Linked DNA regions of Homo sapiens: region 2 is linked to region 1. Evidence: promoter capture Hi-C in 16 types of primary human blood cells and fetal thymus (Javierre and others, 2016). All regions are on one chromosome and are shown on one strand. Each heading gives the region's core, a stretch centred on a gene start or on the middle of the fragment in contact. The rest is flanking DNA. Distances are from core to core; before and after follow the strand shown. Region 1 holds the start of PDCD5 (programmed cell death 5). Region 2 holds the start of TSHZ3 (teashirt zinc finger homeobox 3).

Evidence for each region. The method cuts DNA at HindIII sites, captures the fragments that hold promoters and counts their contacts. A CHiCAGO score of 5 or more calls a contact.
Region 2: a contact is called between the fragment with the promoter of TSHZ3 here and the fragment with the promoter of PDCD5 in region 1, in 2 of 17 cell types (M2 macrophages and monocytes). The highest score is 6.4, in M2 macrophages.

What each region holds. Positions count from the first base shown.
Region 1 is chr19:32,579,406-32,582,910 of GRCh38, forward strand. PDCD5 (programmed cell death 5) reads left to right here and starts at 1,785. Exons shown (of 6, transcript NM_004708.4): 1 at 1,785-1,922; 2 at 2,790-2,827. The coding sequence starts at 1,857. RefSeq lists an enhancer at 1,235-1,324 and silencers at 1,535-2,264, 1,610-1,786. The HindIII fragment of the contact is 4,450 bases long and covers 1-2,389 here.
Region 2 is chr19:31,347,827-31,351,331 of GRCh38, forward strand. TSHZ3 (teashirt zinc finger homeobox 3) reads right to left here and starts at 1,610. Exons shown (of 2, transcript NM_020856.4): 1 at 1,354-1,610. The coding sequence starts at 1,393. It overlaps TSHZ3-AS1 (TSHZ3 antisense RNA 1), which reads left to right. Exons shown (of 3, transcript XR_002958388.2): 1 at 1-1,091. The HindIII fragment of the contact is 11,306 bases long and covers 1-2,022 here.

The DNA.
Region 1 (3,505 bases), core at 535-3,034:
ATTGTCAGATGAATGGATAAACAAAATGTGCTAGGTATATCCATACAATGGAATATATTCAGTCTAAAGAGGGAAAGAAATTCTGCCACATGCTACAACATGAATGAACCTTTAAGACATATGCTAGGTGGAGTAAGCCAGTCACAAAAGGACAAATATTGTATGATTCCACATATACAAGATACCCAGAATAGGCAAATTCATAGAAACTAGAATGAGAATGGGTGGAGACTGATTATTATTCTCAGACCCCTCCCACCCCCACCCATTCCCATTAGAGGCCCCTCACACCAACCTAAATCTTTACTGGGTAGAGTTCCAGTTCAGGATGATAAAAAAAAAAAGTTGTAGAGATTGATGGTGGACAAGGTGGTTCATGCCTGTAATCCCAGCACTTTGGGAGACCAAGGCAGGTGGATCACTTTAGGTCAGAAGTTCGAGACCAGCTTGACCAACATGGTGAAACCCCATCTCTACTAAAAAATACAAAATTAGCCGGGCACAGTGGTGCACGCCTGTGGTCCCAGCTACTTGGGAGACTGATGCAGGAGAATCGCTTGAACCCGGGAGGTGGAGGTTGCAGTGAGCTGAGATTGAGTGACAACTGCACGATAATGCATTTCATACCACTGAAAAGTACACCTAAAAATGGTGAAAATGGTAAATTTTGTATTGTGTATATTTTGCCACAATTAAAACACACAGGCCAGGTGTGGTGGCTCATGCCTGTAATGTTAGCAGTTTGGGAGGCTGAGGCAAAAGGATTGCTTGAGCTCAGGAGATAGAGGCCAGCCTAGGCAACATAGCGAGACCCCATCTGTATTTTTTTAATGTAAAAAATAAAATAACACACACACAGACAAACAAACAGAATCTGTATGAGTCACACGTTTAGGTAGCTGAATATCCTCTCTGCCCCCAATTCCCCCAAGTCAAAGGCAGAAGGGATTTGTTCCACCAAAGAGTTTACACCAGCCACAGCTGCCCACTGCAGTATCCTCCCAGGAAAAGCCCTTTTGTGCGTGGAGGAGGCAGATGGCGAGGAGGCAGATGTGCACTTTTTTTTTTTTTTTTTTTTTTTTTAGAGACAGGGTCTGGCTGTGTCTCCCAGGCTGGAGTGCAGTGGCGAGATCAAGGCTCACTGCAGCCTCGAACTTCCGGGCTCCAGCGATCCTCCTGACACAGCCTCCTGAGTAGCTGGGACTACAGGTGCACATCACCGCGCCCAACTAGTTTTTTAAAATTTTAGTAGAGATAGGCTCTTGCCATATTGCCCAGGCTGGTCTCTAACTCCTGACCTCAAATGACCCTACCGCCTCCCGAAGCGTCGGGACCACAGGCGGCGAGCCACCGGCCGGCCTCTGTGTGCACCGAGGAGCCGGGCAGCCACCGCCACGATCCAGCTTTAGGACATTTCCATCACCCCACTCAGCCTTCCTGCGCCCCTGGTTCCTCATCTATAAATAGAGATAATATACGCCTAACCCTCTAGGTCACCAGCACATTGCACCCATAATTATTATACTTGTTGATGCCACACTTTCAGGTTTTAACCTTTCCAAAGCGCAGCCCCGCCCCAGCGCAGCCCAAGTCCCTGCACGCAGAGGCGCCGATCACGGGTGGGAGGTGGATCCCGGAGGCCCCGCCCCAGGCCCCGCCCCTCCGTGCGCCCAAGCTCGACCGCCTGAAATCGGGGAATCGGGCCTCTGCCGGCGCCCTGGCAGCGGCGCGGGGCGTGGCTCCGGGCTGGATTGGTGGCGCCTGGGCCCCGCGAGCGCCTGCGCAGTGGTCAAGGCCGCGCTCGCGCCGAGGGGCTGCGAGAGTGACCGCGGCTGCTCCAGCGCTGACGCCGAGCCATGGCGGACGAGGAGCTTGAGGCGCTGAGGAGACAGAGGCTGGCCGAGCTGCAGGCCAAACACGGGGTGAGCGCATCAGCCCCCGCCAGGCTTGGCCCTCGCGGGGCGCCGCCCTCGCCCGGAGTGTAGGGCGCGCCTCCGGGGCGGAGGCTCTGGGCGCCTCCCCGGGGCCCCGGTCCCCTGCGCTGCCCTGGCGGCCTCGTGGCCGGCTCAGAGGTGGCCTCGTCGCTTTCCTCGTCGCGAGGGGCCCAGGAGGCTGGCGGCGGGGGCCGCCACGTGCGGGACCTGCCCTGGCGTTGGGGTGTGGGGTCCCCTAGCCTGGAGCGGGCTCGTCCTGGCGGGCCTGGATCCAAGCACAATCTCAGCTTTTGGAGCCAGCAGCCGGACCGAATTCAGTTTTTCCGGAGTTCAGTTGTTATGACCCAAGTTTAGCCGACAGGTATTGAGGGTCCGCTGTGTTCCCGGTGCTGAGAGCGCGGCAGGGTCGGAGGAACGCTTGCCCCGCCGGGATGACAGGGAGGGGCCGCCTGGGAAGCTTGGATGGATCACACGCCCGGAGAGGCGTTTCTGATAAGGGACCGGGACCTTAGGGACGGAGGGCGCAGTCTTTGAGTTATCGTTGTCCCTAATACCGAGGCCCGTTTTATTTTCCAGAAATTATTCCTACATGTGAAACACGGTTTCGTAATACAGGGATTCCCCTCCCCAGGGTGCTCTGTATTCCAAAGCCTTCTGAGGTTGTGGTTTTAGACGTTCATCAAAACGTTGTAAGTGGGAACTAGTTCATTGATTTCTGTGAGGCCCAGTTTCTTATTTGGGGAGTTGTTTCTACCACCGCAAGAGACTGTTATGTATAGGAAACAACAGAACCGTTCCTTTTTCCCGCCGCCTCCCGTGAAATTTCTCTATTAAATTTAAGTTTTTTTTTTCCAGGATCCTGGTGATGCGGCCCAACAGGAAGCAAAGCACAGGTATGGGCTGGAAACGTGAACTTTTTGAAGGGTGGTTTCACCAAATGGATTTCTTTTGCTGTAGTTATTTTAAGCAGGTGTGTGACTCAGATTTTTTTGTTTTGCTGGAATGGTGATTTGGCCAAAATCATCCGCAGGGTATCTTCATTATTGTTAAATAAACACGTGTGCAGCTCCACATCAGACCTTGTATTGCAATTACTGGTTGATGTTTCTCTGCTACAATGTGAGTACCTTAAAAATGAGCCTGATAATAGGCAGCTGTGGCAGTTTCCTCGGCTGTGGGGGTGACGTGAGTCCGGTGCCTCACTTAGTAAGTGCTCAATAAGTGTTAACTGGTAAGCTATTCTGATTGTTTTATCCCAACACAGCGCACAGCACCTGAGACAGATGCAGGTAATTGATTCGGTGGCAGGTTTATTGAATGAGTATGTGATTACCCTATCATGCTATCATTTTTTAAAAATTGTGGTTAAATAAAATTTCACCATCACAACCATTTTTAAGTGTGCTCTTCAGTAGTGTTCACACTCTAGAATGTTTTCATCTTGCAAGACTGAAACCTTTAGCTACTGGACAATTCTCTATTTCCCCTTCCTCACCTTCTTACTCCTCCTCTCCAGCAAATATTTATAGAGCACCTGCTCTGGGTCAGGCACTGTGCTGGGTCTACAGAAA
Region 2 (3,505 bases), core at 360-2,859, 1.2 Mb before region 1:
CGTGTAAGGGGTCTGGAGTGCAGAGTGCAGCCAACGTGTGAGGTCCCCTGGCAGTGCCGGCTGGCATGATGGAAATTATGGGCACTCAGGGCACCATGGCTACAACGCCTTCCTCCAAGATGGGCACCAGCCAATGCCCTGACCCTACTCTCTGCCCTTCCCTCTTAACATCAAAAGAGAAGTAAAAGAAAGGAAGAGAAAAGAAAAGAAAGGAAGCCCCACTTAACCCTCCCCTTCAGGGAGCATCTGAACCTCTGCACATCTGAGTGTTACTCATATCAAAATACATCACGTCCATATGTGGTCCTCTCGGCAATCCGCCCCAAATCCCAAAGTTGCACTGACAGGGCCCTCCTGACGTCACAGAGCTTGGCCTCACTATTGCAAGTGATTTATTGATGTTTATTGGGAATGAATAGATCAAAGGCAGCAGCATGACGGGCGATCAATCAGTCATCAAATCAAGGATGGCAACGGGCCAGAAACCCTTCTTCCAGGCAACATGCCCCCAACCGACATTATTGCAAAATAATGTTATGTGTGTGGTTTTTGTTTTGTTTTCAATGATGCGTTTTCCAGAAAAGAAAAGAAAAAAATCGGCTCAGTCTTAACAGGAGTTGACACTCCCGGTTAAAGAAGAAGAAAAAAAAAAAAAAAGGAGGAACAAAAAAGTACTCAGACACGTCCCAGAACTAAGTGCTATGCGGAGATGAGGGTGGGAGCAGCAGTACAAGGAGGGGGTGGGGGCGAGGAAACACAAACAGGGGAGAAGGAAACGCCAGCATCTAACATGGACTTGACAGTCATCTGACAATACCCAGACCCTGTGCGCTCCGGGTTCCACCGCTGTGCCCAGTTTGGGCCCAAGAAATGAGGAATCAATCGTGTTAGTACTAAGGTGGCCGAGGGGACCGGCTCGCTCACTCGTTCGCGCTCCCTGGCTCGGCGGACACCAGGCAGTCCCCCGGCGGTCGGCCGCTCGGAGGACGCGGAAGATGTCCCGGGGAACTCAGGTGACCCCGCCCGCCACCCACAGAAAGAGCCAGGCCGGGGTTGCTTCCCATTCCCTCTGCAGCCGGAGAGCTGAGGAGGTAGGGACCTGGCGCGGCTCAGCGCGCTCCGCGAGCGGCTCCCCAAATGGGTGCGAGAGGGAAGAGGGCAGAGCGCGGCGGGGCGTCCGGGGGGCGCCCGGTACCCGAGGCGGGCGCACGCACCCAAACAGGAGAGCGGCGCCCGGAGTTACTCAGTGCGGGCAGAAGAGCGGGGCGAGGAGCGGGGTCGCGCCCGCTGGAGGCGCGGGGCGAGCGGAGGAAGAGGAGGAGGAGAGCAGAAGGAAGGGGAAGCGGCTCGTACCTGCTGCGCGCCGGGGCGCCTGCTGCTTCCTCCTCGGCATGATGCTTCTCCGGCGACTGCCACTGCCGCCGCCGCCGCCGCTGCCGGGCTGAGGACAGGGAGGGAGGGGGCGGCGGGCCCGCGGGGGGGCGAGGCGGGCCTGCTCTCAGCCTCCCCCCCGGAGAGCGGCCGCCCGCAGGATGCTGCTGCGCCCAGGCTCTCCGCGTCCCCCCCGCGCCGCGCTCCGCCGCGAACCCCGAACGTGCGGAGGGAAGAAGGAGGGCGGGCGAGGGAGGCTCGGGGAGGGAGGAGCACGGGGGGGAGGAGGAGGCAGAGGAGGAGGAGGTGGAGGAGGAGGAGGAGGACCGCGCTGCCGGCGGAATGGGAAGTTTGACAAATCGCTCCAGAGGCCAGAGGAGGAGGGGGCGGGGAGGAGCGGCGGCCCTGCCCCCCCCCGCCCCGTCCCCAGACGAGGTGCGCGGGGTTCGGGGCTGGGGGGCGGGGAGAGGGCGGGCAGAGCGGTGGGAGGAGGAGCGCGGGAGCGGCCCGGACCGGTACTGCCCCGGCCCCCGCCCCTAGGCCGGGGGTCACGGCATCCGGGGGGACGCGCAGCCGCCGCCGCGGCCCGGGGCTCGGCGGTCCAGTCTTCTGCCCGTGGCGCGGCTGGAGCGGCGGCGTCGGCAACAGGCAAGCTTAAAGGAAAAGGAGATGATCGTGTCAATCGCCCGCCCGCGGGGGCGCCGCGCCCCCGCCCCCGGCCCCAGGCCCGCGTGGGACCCCCGCCCCGCCAGCGAAAGGGGTGCCGCCCCTCCGCCTCCGCCCCGTGCGCACACGCGGGGGCGCGGCGCCAGCCCCGCCGAGCCCGTCCCGGGGCGCTCGTTACCCCCCACCCCTATTCCCACCCAGCGTTCGTCCCCAGCCACCCCCCAGCTGCCCCACCCGGCTCGCACTCCTCTCCACCCGCCGACTCCGGAGCCCCCAGCGTGGTCCCCGGGCCGGGGCTGGCGTCCCCCGGGGAAGCCAGAGCCCACGGGCAGGCCCCCTCCAGGGAGGAGGCGGGCGCGGGCCGGGGCGGGTGGGGGCAGCCCTCAGACCCCGCGCCACCCAGCTCCTCCCCCAGGACCCGCCGTAGCCACTTCCCCCAATTTTTTTTCCCCGGACAAACTTTCCTGGGCCCGTCCCGGGGGTCGGTGTGGGAGGGGGTTCCTTCAAGTTTCCTCTCCTGACTTTGGGATGATCAGGGTCCCTCCACCCCGCCCCTCGCCCCCGGGAGCCGGGCCGCGCCCCCCATCCACGGCGCGGGCCGATCCTAGGGCGGGACGGGGGCGGGAGAAGGAAACCGGGCTCCCCTGCCCATCCCCCGCCAGGGGCTCCCCCCGAGAGCCTAGGGGGCCGCCGCGCCGTGTCCCGCGCCCGGCCTGCCGGGGCTGCTGGACTAGAGGGATTGATTATTGATTGGTGATCGGGGTCGCTGAGGCTCCGGGCCGGCCCGGCCGACTGGCCGCGGCAAGAAGGAGCTGGCTGGGCGGCGTGGGCGGCGGGGCGACGCGGGCTCACTTACGGGCGGCGGTGAGGGCGCGGGTGGGCCGGAGCTCATGCGGGCGACCCCCGGGCGGCGGCGGCTGAGCGGGAGCCGGAGCCCGAGCGGCGCGGGCGGCGGCGCATCGATGCGCTGCGGGCTCGATTGCGTCTCCCTGGGCCAGCTCTCAGGCCGGGAATGGGGCGGCCGCGCCGGGGCCGGCTCCGGGCGCTGCCGGGCGGCGGCTGCTGGAGCGCGGGGGCGGCCTCCGGGCCCACTATCCCCGAGGCGGCCCTGCGCCCGGGCGCGCCGGCTGGGGCTCTGGCGCTCTCGCAGGCCCCGAGGCCGACAGTCCCGGCGAGGGCGGGCGCCCCGCGCTCCAGCACCGGCTGCCTGAGCGCTCCTGGAGCAGCAAACCCCAGACTTCTTCCTCCTTCTCTCCTTCCTTCCTTCCCCCTCCCCTTATCTTTTTCTTTTTTTAGTCTCTTTCTCCCTCTTTTTCTGCCCTGTGTCCTTTTTATTTTTTCTCTACGACTGTTTTTGCAAGTTTGTTTCAAAAGTTCACAGCATGCTTTCTTTTCTTTTAGACCGGGAGACAGTGATCTCACCCACACGGTAAGATCAAAAGTCTCCGCTCGCCCAGCCTGCGGGCTT